Linked DNA regions of Homo sapiens: region 1 is linked to region 2. The links are contacts of gene promoters, found by promoter capture Hi-C in blood cells and fetal thymus (Javierre and others, 2016). All regions are on one chromosome and are shown on one strand. The core of a region is centred on a gene start or on the middle of the fragment in contact, and the rest is flanking DNA. Distances in the headings are between cores, read along the strand shown. Region 1 has its middle 50 kb from the start of PXYLP1. Region 2 holds the start of SPSB4 (splA/ryanodine receptor domain and SOCS box containing 4).

Evidence for each region. The method cuts DNA at HindIII sites, captures the fragments that hold promoters and counts their contacts. A CHiCAGO score of 5 or more calls a contact.
Region 1: a fragment that was not itself captured here is called in contact with the fragment with the promoter of SPSB4 in region 2 in 3 of 17 cell types (M1 macrophages, M2 macrophages and M0 macrophages); the score reaches 6.2 in M1 macrophages.

What each region holds. Positions count from the first base shown.
Region 1 is chr3:141,178,795-141,185,496 of GRCh38, forward strand. No RefSeq gene overlaps it. Among named protein-coding and RNA genes, the nearest start is that of PXYLP1, 50 kb to the right of the region's middle. The HindIII fragment of the contact is 1,754 bases long and covers 3,230-4,983 here.
Region 2 is chr3:141,050,063-141,056,116 of GRCh38, forward strand. It overlaps SPSB4 (splA/ryanodine receptor domain and SOCS box containing 4), which reads left to right and starts at 1,285. Exons shown (of 3, transcript NM_080862.3): 1 at 1,285-1,930. The HindIII fragment of the contact is 5,905 bases long and covers 1-1,599 here.

The DNA of each region.
Region 1 (6,702 bases), core at 2,857-5,356, 130 kb after region 2:
CTCTTTTTACCAAAGGTTGGAAGCATGTTTCCTTGCAACTAAATGAATGGACTGGAGTAAAATGAAAATAAAAGCTTTCTCTAAAATCTCTCAATCCGTTGTTTATTTTTAAATAAATCGATGCTCGTCTAGAGCCCTGTGGGTGTGCTGGCAGCATTTGAGAAAGTCCTGGGTCTGGGAGCCAGCAGACACCTGTGTACAATAATGAACCAGGATCCTCTGCAACCTGAACTTCTAAAACAATCTTGTTGCTTGCCAGACAACTGGGAAAATATGCCCATTGACCTCCCCACTTCCCTGGCCAGGCCAGGGTTCCAGGAAGCCCAATGTTGTTATGCATCTGAGCAGGGGAGGGGGCAGGAGGTGCTGGGGGATGGGAATTTTTGTGCAGAGTGGGTGCATAGGCCCATGGAATATGGGGAAGGAAATCCATATAAATAGATGATGTGCCCAAGTCTTGGCCAGTGCAAATGCCCCATGGAGGCTGTGGTTCAGAGCGTGATGGCTTGTGGCCTCCTTCCCCATCCAGTGTTTCCCTGCTACCCTTTCCTACGGGAGATCAGGCAGGACATCAACAAACCCGGTTTGTTGATGCTTTAGTATTTCCTCACATGTTCCAGTGATAAGGGGCTTCTATTTGTTGAGCTCAGCAAGAATCAGACGCTTTATACACAGTTACAATATTTCTACATGAGGGCTTTGAGTCTGTCCGTGTAACAAAATGGAGGCTTAGAAATTTGGTCAAGGTTCAGAGTCAGCAAATGGTGGAGCTGAGCTAGGCCCAGGTCTTTCTGATGAGAAAATGTCTATGTTTTCTCTGTATATACACAGCACCCAGGAAGGCATGGTTGCCCCCAGCTTGGTGACACCCAAGACCACACCAGGCTCACCTCCACCAGCAAACACAGTGTTGAACAGGGTCACAGAGGGACTGGTAAGAGTAGGGGTGAGGAAGAGAAGAGCAGAGGAATAGTGCAAGAAATATTTCAATAATAATAATAACTGAAAATAATATCCAGTCATAATTGACTGCTTACTATAATTAAAGCAAATAAGAAGGAGACCGTTAGCCTAAGGTTGTCTGTATATCTGGAGCTCTTACAGAGTTAACCCAAAACTTCACTTGGAGGCATTTCTTGTAACCAATTTAAAACAACAACAACAAAACTGAGCTTTATCCAATCACAGGCAGCCAATTAGCCAGTCTGTTATAGAGCTAGGGATCTCCCCTTGAACTATACCCAAATAAAGCAAATGCTCAGCTGTAGCCAATCAAGTAATTTTGTCAACTTTACTTTTGCATTCAGCCTATAAAAGCTGGTTGCTCATGCTGCTGTGGTGGAGCTCTCTGAACCTCTTCCAGTTTTGAGTGCTGCCCAACTCATGAACTGTTCTTTGCTCAAATAAACTCTGTTAAATTTATTTTGTCTAAAGTTTTGCTTTTAACATGCTGTGCCAGACACTATGCAAAGCACTTTACATTATCTCCTCTAAAAGAAATAAATTCCTTAAACTAGCCACCTATGTGGGCAGGCAGAGTGAAAAGTCTCCTCTGCTAGATGGCATGGCTGAAGAATCTACCTCACGAGGATCCAGACCTTGTGAACAATAGACACCGTATACAGGTATGAGAACTCACTGAGCTGCACAGGCAGGCGGTTGATTCCTCCCACCAGACTCTCTCTCTCTGGTGGAGATATAGATGCCCTTCCCACCCACTCTTAGGAAGACTCTGCTTTCTTGTAGACATGTCTGGCCACCGTGATTATCCAACAGTTAGAATATTATCTCAGGGCTGGCCTGAGACATGTGCATGTCTCAGACAGGCTAATGAATCTGAAGCCCCTTCAATAGCTTAACAATATTTGTTCCATATGTGTCAGAGAAGTGTTCTCAATGAATATTTAAATGTCCCCTAGTATGCTTTCTGTCTCAACAGAAGTGGACCATGGTACATTTTGCCACATTTGTGTGGTGTCAAGTGCAGACATCTGAGTTAACTGGTACCATGTTTTCCATTTATTCTGCTGCTGTCTTAGTGGTCCTTGTAGATTGACACCTCAGACCCATCGGCCTGCCCTTTCGTATGATTCCACTGGCTGTGGTGGTTTTGTGAGGATCATAAATGTCCTTCAATTAGAGACAGGTGCCCCAAACTTTATTCTTCTAGTAACATACCGGCCTTTGCCAATTGTGAATTCCTCCTAGCCTTTCTTGAACCTGTCTCCATTTCCAGCCTGTGCTATCTCTCAAAGTGACAGGTTGCCCTTGGGGAAATAGGATATCCTTCTCTGTGTTTTAAAGTTCTCCCAAGTGTCTAGATTTTTGTCATAAGATCCAAGTCCTATTCTACACCTTCTCCATTATTTCACACACTTTGTAAGTCTCTAAGGATGAAAGAGGCAACTTCTTTGTCTCTCTTTCTTAAAAATTACACTCCGCTATTGCTCTAGTTTCTTGATGCTATTTTTTTTCTCACTGCAAAGGAGACCCCTCTTCTTGTGTGCCTGTGCTTGACATCAGGATTTAAATACAACTGCTTGCCTTTGGTATTGTGGCCTCACATTCCAGGCTTCCCTCGTGTCTGATTTCAAAACTGTATCCACTCCAACCACTGAAATGGATTTGCACTTCCACCACAACATTCAAGAGCGAGAAACATTGCATTACTTTCTTTTTTCCTAATTCAAATTCCATCTGGCTCTCAGTCCCTACTTCCCTGGGCAGTGAAACGCCCAACATAACTCACTACTGGGGATACCTTTTCTTCCCTAGGGTCACCCAAGAAGCCAGTGAGTCTCTCACAGTCTTGAAAACTTGGGGAAGGACCTCTCTGGTCTTCAACCTACCACTAAGATTCTCATTGCCCATGTTGTCTGTTTAAAATGGGTGGTGTCACATTTTACACCCTGTATAGGGCACAGTGTTTGTTTGCTGCTACTCCCAACATCACATCCTTTAGGGCCCAGTAACTGACAACTGTGTATAATCCCCTGGAGGCCTTGACACGAAGGTGAGGTGCCATTTTCACCATGTATGGACCTCACCATCACCTTCTCCTCCACCTCCAGGAGTCACCCCAAACACCAGGCACCAGCTTCCACCTCCTCCTCCTCAGGCAGAACCAAGCTTGGGCCCCTAGTGTAGAAGGGCTGTCTTCTGGGTGCCAGGTGCAGCAATCACTCTAGGTGTCTGCTGCTAAGCCCAGAACTCGCCTTTCCAGTGACTAAGCTTCTGCTTGAGGACTTTCATAGCCACAGGGGTGTGCTTGGCTCATTGTGCAAGCCAGAAGTACCTGGAAGTTAACGACCTGGAAGCAACCTCAATCAATGACTTGAGGATAAATACATCAGCTCCTGGTCCCTATGGTGGAACAACACATGGAGCTGTGTTTCACACAACCTCCCAGTGGGATGGAGCCCGAGGTGCCCTTGGCAGTAACCTTCTGGTCAACACACCCTGCATTAGCTGCCCTCCATGCCTGGGCTCACTTCTCCACTCTGCCTACTGTGTGCCTCCTGTGGTCACCTCCCAGATTGCCCACAAACTCTTGTACTAAGGTCTGCTTCAGGGAATCCCAACCTAGGAGCCCTGGTAGCTTCTGTTCTGGGCTCTGAAACCCAAAAGCTATCAACATCTCCAGAGGCAAAGGAGTCCAGACCTAGTCTGCCCTTATCTGTTAAGAAAGAAAAGAGAAGAAAGAAAAATGACCTTTTTCTCCTTCTGGAGTCTCCTCCACAAAGAGGATAAGAGAAATGAACAACACCATATATTTTACCGCCATAGAACAATTACTAACTGAGCACCTACTATGAGGCCAGCCTGGCCCACAGCCATCTGGGGGATAAAGAAGAAAAATGAGAAGGTGCTGATGACCCAGATCTCAGGAGAAGAAAATCAACGTTCTTGGTGTGGGAATGAACAACAGTGGAGCACTGACTCTGAGACACATGTCCTATATTCACATCCTCAGGTATTTGCTGGGAAAATTAGGGCTCAAGGGAATGCAGTGACTTGCTCAAGCTGAAGGTCACCTAATCCAACCATGGTGTGACCACGCCTTGGCCAGCAGGGTCTCTTGCCCTGATATAGGGGGCTCTGGTTGGCAAGGAGAGGACTTTGGCAATGTAGGCCCTACATTTGACAGGACCCAAACAGGGCTTCACTAGGGCTTAGTTTTCAAAACCATGTACTTCAGCTCCACCCAGCCCTTCTAGGGAAGGTGCAATTCAGAGAAGCTGCAACAAACACTCACAAAATGGGTTAATAACAGTATGGCAAACACCAAATTAATTGCCCACTCAAGTAATGCAGTCCATATGGGGGCCCTGGAGAGCAGAGACAATGGGTGGATTCTCTCCCTGTACTCAAGTCAGCAGGAGTCAAAGTCACTGAGATTGAGGATCCAAAGTTCTCCCAGAGCCATGAGTGGTGGCTTCACCTTATTCTGGCCTCCTTGCCTGTAACTTCTATAAAGAGAGTTTTGCAGGGCGTGAAGTCATTGCTGAGACAAAGTAGAGGTTGTGTTTTGTTGCGCTGTGAGCACTTTCTCAAAGAGAGGGTCTGTTTGGAGCTCTGCTTCCCTGGCTTTCCTCTTCTAAAGGCCAAGAGCTTGCAAACACTGCAATGTGAACTATGCATTAAAATTTTATACACTAATATATATTTTACTGAACTTTTTAATAACCCTGGGAGAAATAGCTTTAAATAATTCAATATGGTGTTGGCCCCGAGCTGAACTATGCTACAAGTAACCATGTATAAAATATGACACTAATATTGCATACCTTAATATAATAAATGTTTATCTTGATAATAAGCCATTTGAATTCTAGTAATGTGTGAGTTACAGTTGCTATGGCACAGTCTTGTTAAGGTTTTAAATGAGACATCAACAGCAAAAGCAACATAAATGTACACATTAATCTACTTGCTATTTATAAACGAACCAACTGGACAGTGAATAGCTTATTCATAAATAAAAGCTTTAAATGCCATTTATGAGGCAAGTGAATGACTGGAGGAAGTTTGCGGCCAGTAATGTATGTTTTCCTCAGAGCTACCTTTGGGATTTTATAGAAAGTCCAGCATGAGGACAGAGGTCAGTTTCCCCACCCAACAAGGAGGCCATTGTCAGAGGAAGGAGCCATTGATGCACAGTAGGTGTTCAATAAATTCTTATTGGAAGACTTTAAGTGGCTGCCTCAGGAAGAAGAATTTAAGAATTTGAGTGGTTTCCAAACCTGGCTATGAATCAAAATTACCTGGACGTTGTGTTAAAAATACAGATCTCCAAGTCCCGCCCAGATACAGAGCTAGAATCTTCAGATTTTCAGCCTAGGAATCTCACCCCAAGTCTACAGTCAATTTGCCTTTTAAAAAATTTTAAAAAATTCTACAAGTTTTTTTTATTTTGTTTTGTTTTATTGTTGTTTTGTGAGGGGCTAGGGGTTTGTTTGTTTGTTTGTTTGTTTTTAGAAACAAGGCCCCACTGTGTTGCCCAGGCTGAACTCAAACTCCTGGGCTCAAGCAGTTCTCCCACCTTTGCCTCCCAAGTAGCTGGGATTACAGGTGTGTGCCCTGCACCCAGCTCTATGGGATTTTTAGGGGAGAATCTTAAAGTTGGAAGAAACCCTGGTGATTATCTAATCCAACCTCTAAAATCACATAGCAGGTTTGTGGGCACGCTAGGACCCATCTGCGTTCTGATCCCATACCAATGTCCCAACATTGTTTTCACCAGGCCTGTGTCTCCAAACTGGGGCATGTGTCCACTAGTTGGATTAGTCAGGACTTGAATTTTAGTTACAAGTGGAAATAACCTAAGGCAAATCAATTTAACCAAGAAATTACATGGCTTTAGGTACAGCTAGATCCCAGGATTAAAATGATGTCATTGGGGTTTACCTCTTTCCACCCTTCACTTATGCTTCCTTTGGGTTGGTTCATTCCCAGGCAGTTTCCTCTACTAGCGACCTTGAAATTTCTAGGCTACATCTCAGCGGTTTACCCCCCCAAGCTGAAACAGGCTTTCTCTGTTGCAAGAGTAGCAGCAGACGCCCAAGGGCTGATACTCATTGGTCTGCTTGGGCCACATGTTAATTTTTTTTTTTTTTTGAGGTGGAGTCTCGCTCTGTCGCCCAGGCTAGAGAGCAGTGCCATCTCAGCTCACTCCAACCTCCACTTCCTGGGGTCAAGCGATTCTGCTGCCTCTTCCTTCCCAGTAGCTGGGATTATAAGGCATGCACCACCACAGCCAGCTAATTTTTTGTTTGTTTGTTTTGTTTTTGTTGTTGTTGTTGTTTTTAGTAGAGATGGGGTTTTGCCATATTGGCCAGGCTGGTCTCGAACTCCTGACCTCAGATGATCTACCTGCCTTGGCCTCCCAAAGTGCTGGGATTACAAGTGTGAGCCCCCGTGCCCGGCCCATTTCTGAAGCAAGCATTGCACTCAGAGGAATGTAACCTGAGTTACGGGTATACCTGGGACAGGGCAGGGTCCAGCCATGGACAGAGAGTTGGAGGGGTGGTTCCCCCAGAGAGAAATTGAGCCACTGGTACCAGAAAGGGAATAGAGGCAGGGCAGGAAAAGCAACAGAGCAGCTGTCTCCTCACCAACACTGTGCCAGCCACATGTGAAGTGACAGGTGAATGCAGGCATCTTCTGCAGCTCCCGTCTTACTGACAAAAAGTAGCTTAACAC
Region 2 (6,054 bases), core at 35-2,534:
CTTGGTTCATAAAGCATCATCTTATGCTTAGACTATTACAGTAGCTGCCAACCTGGTTTCCTCCATCCATCCATCCAGTTGGCTGCTAAGAGGTCTTTCTGGAATGCAAATCCGACAAGGTCACTACCCTGGTTAAAGGCCTCCCAAAGTGATGGGGAAGGTCAAGCTCTTGATACAGTCTCCACCCAAGACCCTAGACACCGTCCATCCCTCCAGTTCCGTCATACCCCCTCTGCTCATAGCACAGGCTCTGTGCTGTGATAGGTAGCTCTCCAGGTGACCATGTTGTACCCCTGCCTCCAGGAGCTAATTCATGTAGACACATTTACTAGGAAACATTCCCAGTTGCCCTTTCCAGTCTGACAAATTCGCCCCAGAACCTCTCTCAAAACGTTTCCTTCATAGAGTTGGATTGTCTTTACTTGTTTTCCATGTCCTTGATGAAATGCGCACTCTGCATCTAGACTCTGTCTGCATCTAGACTCTGTCTGCATCTAGACTCTGCCTGGTACCTGGCACAGAGAGGGATTGGGTTAGCAAATGACTGCGTAATGGACCTAAAGTCAATTCTGGGAGCACAGACGAGGGCCACCAAACCAAGAACTTTCAATTTCCCCAAGGAAGCGCAGATACCAGAAGCACCCTCGAGGCTTCTGTTTTGGCCACGCCCTTTACCCCATCGCTCAGTTCAGGCTCCCAATGAGGCGGCCCACCATCAGCGCTGGTAGAGCAAAGAGACCGACTTCCTGCGCCTCGGGTGGGCGGGGAACGCTCCTTGAGCAGGTGCGGTATGAAATTGGACTTTAAGAGATGAGTTGGAGCCTGATCTCAAAAATAAAGTGTGGACGTGTGTGTCTGAGGAAGGGGGATAATAAACCACCCTTTTTTCCTCCTGGCTGCTATTTCCCACGTGCGTTGAGTAAAGGCACCAAAGCTGCCTAGTGACTGGGTGTCTCCTCCCCGTCAGGGGCACCCACCCTGGCGCTCCAGGAGCGCTTGAATGAATCCGGGAGGACCCGCGCGCAGGAATGAATGCGAGAGCTAGGGAGTGAGCGGGCGAGTGGGCGGGTGAGTGAATGGCGACCGCGCCGCCGCCTTGGCACAGGGGCGCGGGCGCGGGCTCCACTTCCCTCTCCCGCCAGCTGGTGGCCTCGAGAAGGTGGCGGCGCCGGCAGCGGCCCGAGCTGGGACGGCCGGGGCGCGGGATGGTGGGGGAAGGGGCGTTCCCGGCGACCGCGCCTTCCGCGGCTATTGGATTAGTGGCCTTCAGGGATGAGCTCAGCCAGATCGGCTTTCAGCTGCAGCCTCCGGGCCGGCCGGGAAGGCGGGGAGCGGGCGGCGGCGGCGGAGGAGGGGGAGGCGGCGGCGGCTGCAGCATCCAGAGCTGGCCGTGGCGGCCGGCGCGCCCCGCGCACAAAAGCACCCAGCCCCAGGGGAGGGCGATGAACACACCACATCCCGGGCCCGGGCCCCAGCTGCTGCTACCGCTGCGTGCGCTCAGGGCGCTGGGGAAGACGCCCGGCGCGCCGGGGGCCAGCGGCCGAGGCGCGGCCCGTGCGCCCTGAGCGCGGGACTCGTCGCCCTCCGGGTCAGGCGCCAAGCTTCCAAGCGGCTAGAGCGCGGGCCTTGGAGCGCCCCCAGGATCGCTTCAGTAAGGCGCTTCCCCACTCCAGGCCCGACCCCCGGCGCCTGAGCGCCAACTTCGCCAAGAACGCTCCTAACTCCAGGCCATCCTGCAGCGCAGAGGGGGCGCTGCTGCCGGGCATCAGCCGTGAGGACGCGCCCCTGGCCGTGCGGAGAGAGCCGGCATTTGCGGGTCACTCGGGCGCCCCTGAGTGGGCGGCGGCGGCAGCAGACCCCTCTCCAGGGAGTCCAGGACCTGCCAGCGCTGGGGATTCTTCCCGAACAGGCGCTTGCCCTCTCTTTTATGGTAAGTACTCTCCAGCTCCTGGTGAGGGGCGCGCGGGGGCCGGGAGCCGAGATCCGGCTGCACGGACTTTGTGCGGGCCAGCACTCGACACAGCTGGCGCTCCTGACGTCCCAGTCCCTGAGAATTCCTCTCTGCAGGTTGTGGCAGTTCGAGATGGTTGATTTGCGCGCAGCCCTGGGGCGTTTGGGGCCCGGCCTTTGGTATCATGGGTTCTAAGCCCTTTGCTTCTCTGCGTAGCGGACAACGCACAAAAAACTGCCATCCGATTCACCCGCTTTGGTTTGGATCCAGGATCCGTCACTCACTGGCTGAGTGACCTTGGACAGGGCGCCAAACCTGTTTCCTCATCCGTAGGATGGGAATGATAATTGTGCACATTTTATAGGGGTATTGGAAAGATCTATGGGATGGTGTTCGTAGGTAGACATGTGCTGGGCACACAGGAAACACTCAATCATATGTTAGCTAGTATTATTATTAGCTTTGCGAGCCCAAGCTTGTTATCCAACTTTCCGAAGCTGCAGCAGTTCCGTCGTCCGTGTAATGGGGACAATAATTCCTGGGGGTCTGTTCGTCCGGGGTATTCGGAGAGGTGGAAGTAAAGCACGGGTCACGCAATAGGCACCGGTGGCTGTTGTTACCGTTTATTCCTGACTCTGGGGCAGTGAGGCTGGTCGCCTGGCCCGAGAGCGACTCAGGGACCAGTCCTGGCCTTGCTTGAATACAAACTTGTCTATGCTCGGGAAGGGAGGGGGTTGGGAGCTCAGGAAACCCTAGGCGCAGGGCTCTGGGAAGGAGGGAGGGGGTCAGAGACTTGAGCGCGGCAAATGTGTCCGCCCTGGTCGCTCTGTACGCGCCAGGGGCTCCAAGCCAGAAGGGGACGCCGAGCCCCCGACCTCTGACTGGCGGGAGAACCGGGGGAGTGGCTGCTCCCGCCGGCCCATGGCCAAGCGCAGACGGCTGCCGGCAGGAAGGAGAGGAGGGCACTTTTCTGTACCGCTGTCGCGAGAAGGTGGAGAGTTCTCAGTTCTGGAGTCAGGCTTGGGTTCGAATCTGTCTCCACCACCAGCTCGCGGTGTGACCTTGGGCAAGTTCTCTAACCTCCCCCCGCTTGGTTTCCTCTTCTGCGCCCCACTCTCCTCCTTGGGGGGTTGGGGGATGAAGATAGGAGTTCCTTTCTCTCAGACTCTGAGCCCTCTATCCTCCCACCCCCTTTCTGGCCCCCTGCCCCCCACCCGCGCAATTTGATGAGCTTAAGTCTGGAAGACGTAAAATGTGTAAAAGCATGATATAAACATCCTTTACCCAAGGGCATATTCCTCTGAGACACATACCCTCTAATTTATTCCATTTTTAAAAATGGTAATGAAAAGAATTTAAGCCACCTTTGGCAAATCACAAACAAAATTCAACTTACTGGACCTTCTACCCAAATATCTCTCCAGTTTGTATTTCTCGTTTATTTTAAAGATATATTTAATGATATAAAAATAAAATCTGCAAGGAAAAGAAATCACCAGAAACAGTCAAAAGATATATGACAAACTGTCACATATGACATATACCACTCCTATCACAACAGGCTCATCTCTTTAAATATGTAAGAGATTCCTGAGGTCAACAAACAAAAGATCAAATGGGCAAAGACACGATTCATACATGCGAAATAAAATAGAAATGATACCAAAACATATGACAAGATACCTTACCTCAATACGAAAAATGCAAGTTAAAATTACAAGATTTTTTTTTAATGTATCAAATTAGCAAGTAGTCATAACCATTTATCAGAAGCATCTTTTAAAAATGTAGATCACATTTCTCCCTAGCTCAGGACCTCCTTAAGGCTGCCACAGAGTAAAATCTAGATGATCCCAGGGGTCCTCAGGTCTGGTACTGCCCTTCTCCACCTCTTCCTCACCATTTTCCTCTCCCCCACTACCCACCCTCCTAGCCTTCTTCCTTTTACTCCAACACTCCAAAGGCTCATTCACTTGCTGTTCCCCTGCCTAGAATACTTTTCCTCCTAGTTTTTCATACAACTGAAACTTCCTCATCATTTACGTAGAACTGTCCTTGGAAGGGCTTCATTTCTATCCCAGAAAGTGGCCAAGCCACAGTGGCCAGTGCAGAATTCCTTGCCCTTTTGGGGAAAGACCTAGTACAACTCACCATACAGGAGTTACTTAATTTCCCCTGAGCTGCCCGACCTGTTGTCACACATCCATGCTCTAGAAAGGTTTTTTCTCTGTTGATACAGGAGTGAAGGGTCTTGGGCATGAAAATCAGGGGAGTGGCAGGCCGTAGATGGAGGTCACCAGAAGTCTCTGCCTATATATGTACTATATAAGTACATAGTATGTACTCTTGATTTATGTGAACATGACCATCTGTGGTAAGAAAAGATCAACTATAAAAAATTTTTAAACCAGCAACACGTTTTTAATAAAACATGGTTCCTACATAAGCCAACTAATTTATTTGCTGCTGATCAGTTCAAGAAATAGGGATTTGTTTTGAGGCTATAGGAAAAACAGTTGTGGGTGGTGTGCCCTTTGGGAAAGAGGTGGTATACCTCAAACCAGTTATCATGAACTTTGTGTGGAACTTTAGAAGAACTTTCCTAAGCAGTGTTGATTGCATGTGATTTTTGCTTCACACATTGAGTTCAGAACTTACTCCATTTAAAATGTATACGTGTGGTGGTTCATGCCCGTAATCCCAGCACTTTGGGAGGCCGAGGCGGGGGGATCGCAAGGTCAGGAGATCGAGACTATCCTGGCTAACACAGTGAAACCCCGTCTCTACTAAAAATACAAAAAATTAGCCCGGCGTGGCGGCTTGCGCCTGTAGTCCCAGCTGCTGGGGAGGCTGAGGCAGGAGAATGGCATGAACCTGGGACGCAGAGCTTGCAGTGAGCCGAGATGGCACCACTGCACTCCAGCCTGGGCAACAGAGCGAGACTCCGTCTCAAAAAAAAAAAAAAAATGCAAACCATGCAGGAGGTATAGAGTGGCTAGTCCTTCTTCAGTCTGACAAGCACGTCTTAATGCAGCCAGAGGTAACAGGTACAAGGCTGTGTACGAGTATTGGAGATAAAGGCTGGTTGGGCACTGGCTCCATTAAGAAATGCAGATGTGGTGCAAGAGATAGCAGCAGGAATCAACAGCTAAGATGAAGACAAAGTGGGTTGGAGGGCAGAGGGTGCAGTGGGACGTAGGCAAGAGGACATAATGGGGCGGAGGGAAGAGGATGTAGTGGGCTGAGGGGCTGCCACGGAGGGGTGCCCAGTTCTGCTTCTGCTAGAAGGGGCAGGGGAGTGAGAGAATGTCAGCCAGGTCAGAGAAGATGGGAAGAGTCCCAGGATGTGCTGACGAGGAGAGTCTGGCATGACTGGTCTGAGGTGGGCCGTGATGACAGACAGTGTGGAAGAAATAAGAGCAGCCTGGAGGGCCCCTGGGTGCCAAGCAAAGAGGTGCAGCTTCTCTCTGGAGAAGCTGCCTGGAGGGTTGAATGAAGAGATTGGTGGGTGTCTTGGTCCAACTTACCTGTTGGCAGCATGGAGAGTGGGTTGGCGGGCAAACAGTGGAGTCAGGGAAGCCTGCTAAGAGACCAGTGGAGTAATCCAGGCAAGTTCTGAACTAGGGGAAAGCTGACGGGGTTGAGTGGTGGGGACCAAGAGACGGGATCCATGGCAGGAACAGTGACATGCAGAGGAACCTGGCATGTGAGAGAGGGAAGAGGCCAGGCTCAGCCTAGGACCTGCAGATTCCGAGGTGCACATGGACCACAGATGTCCCGCAGGGCTGAGAGTGTGGGTGTGCCCATGGTAGGAGGCTTATGATGGAAAGAGGTCAGCTGGCCTTACAAGGTCATTTGAAACAACACCCAGGCAGGGCTGACCAGGGGCTTCTAGTAGGTAGGTCTTGTGCTGAGGAGAGAAGGCAGCACTGGAGACCCGGCTTGAGAGTGTCTGCACGGGGCTGGAGATGCAGGTCATAAGAGAAGATGCATGGAGAGAGAGAGTGAAAAGCGGAAACTGAAGTTGAAGCAATGGACTTGGGGGTGCCCCATTGATGGGGTAGGCAGGAAGACATTGGAGCCAGGAGGAGGCAGGAAAGCTG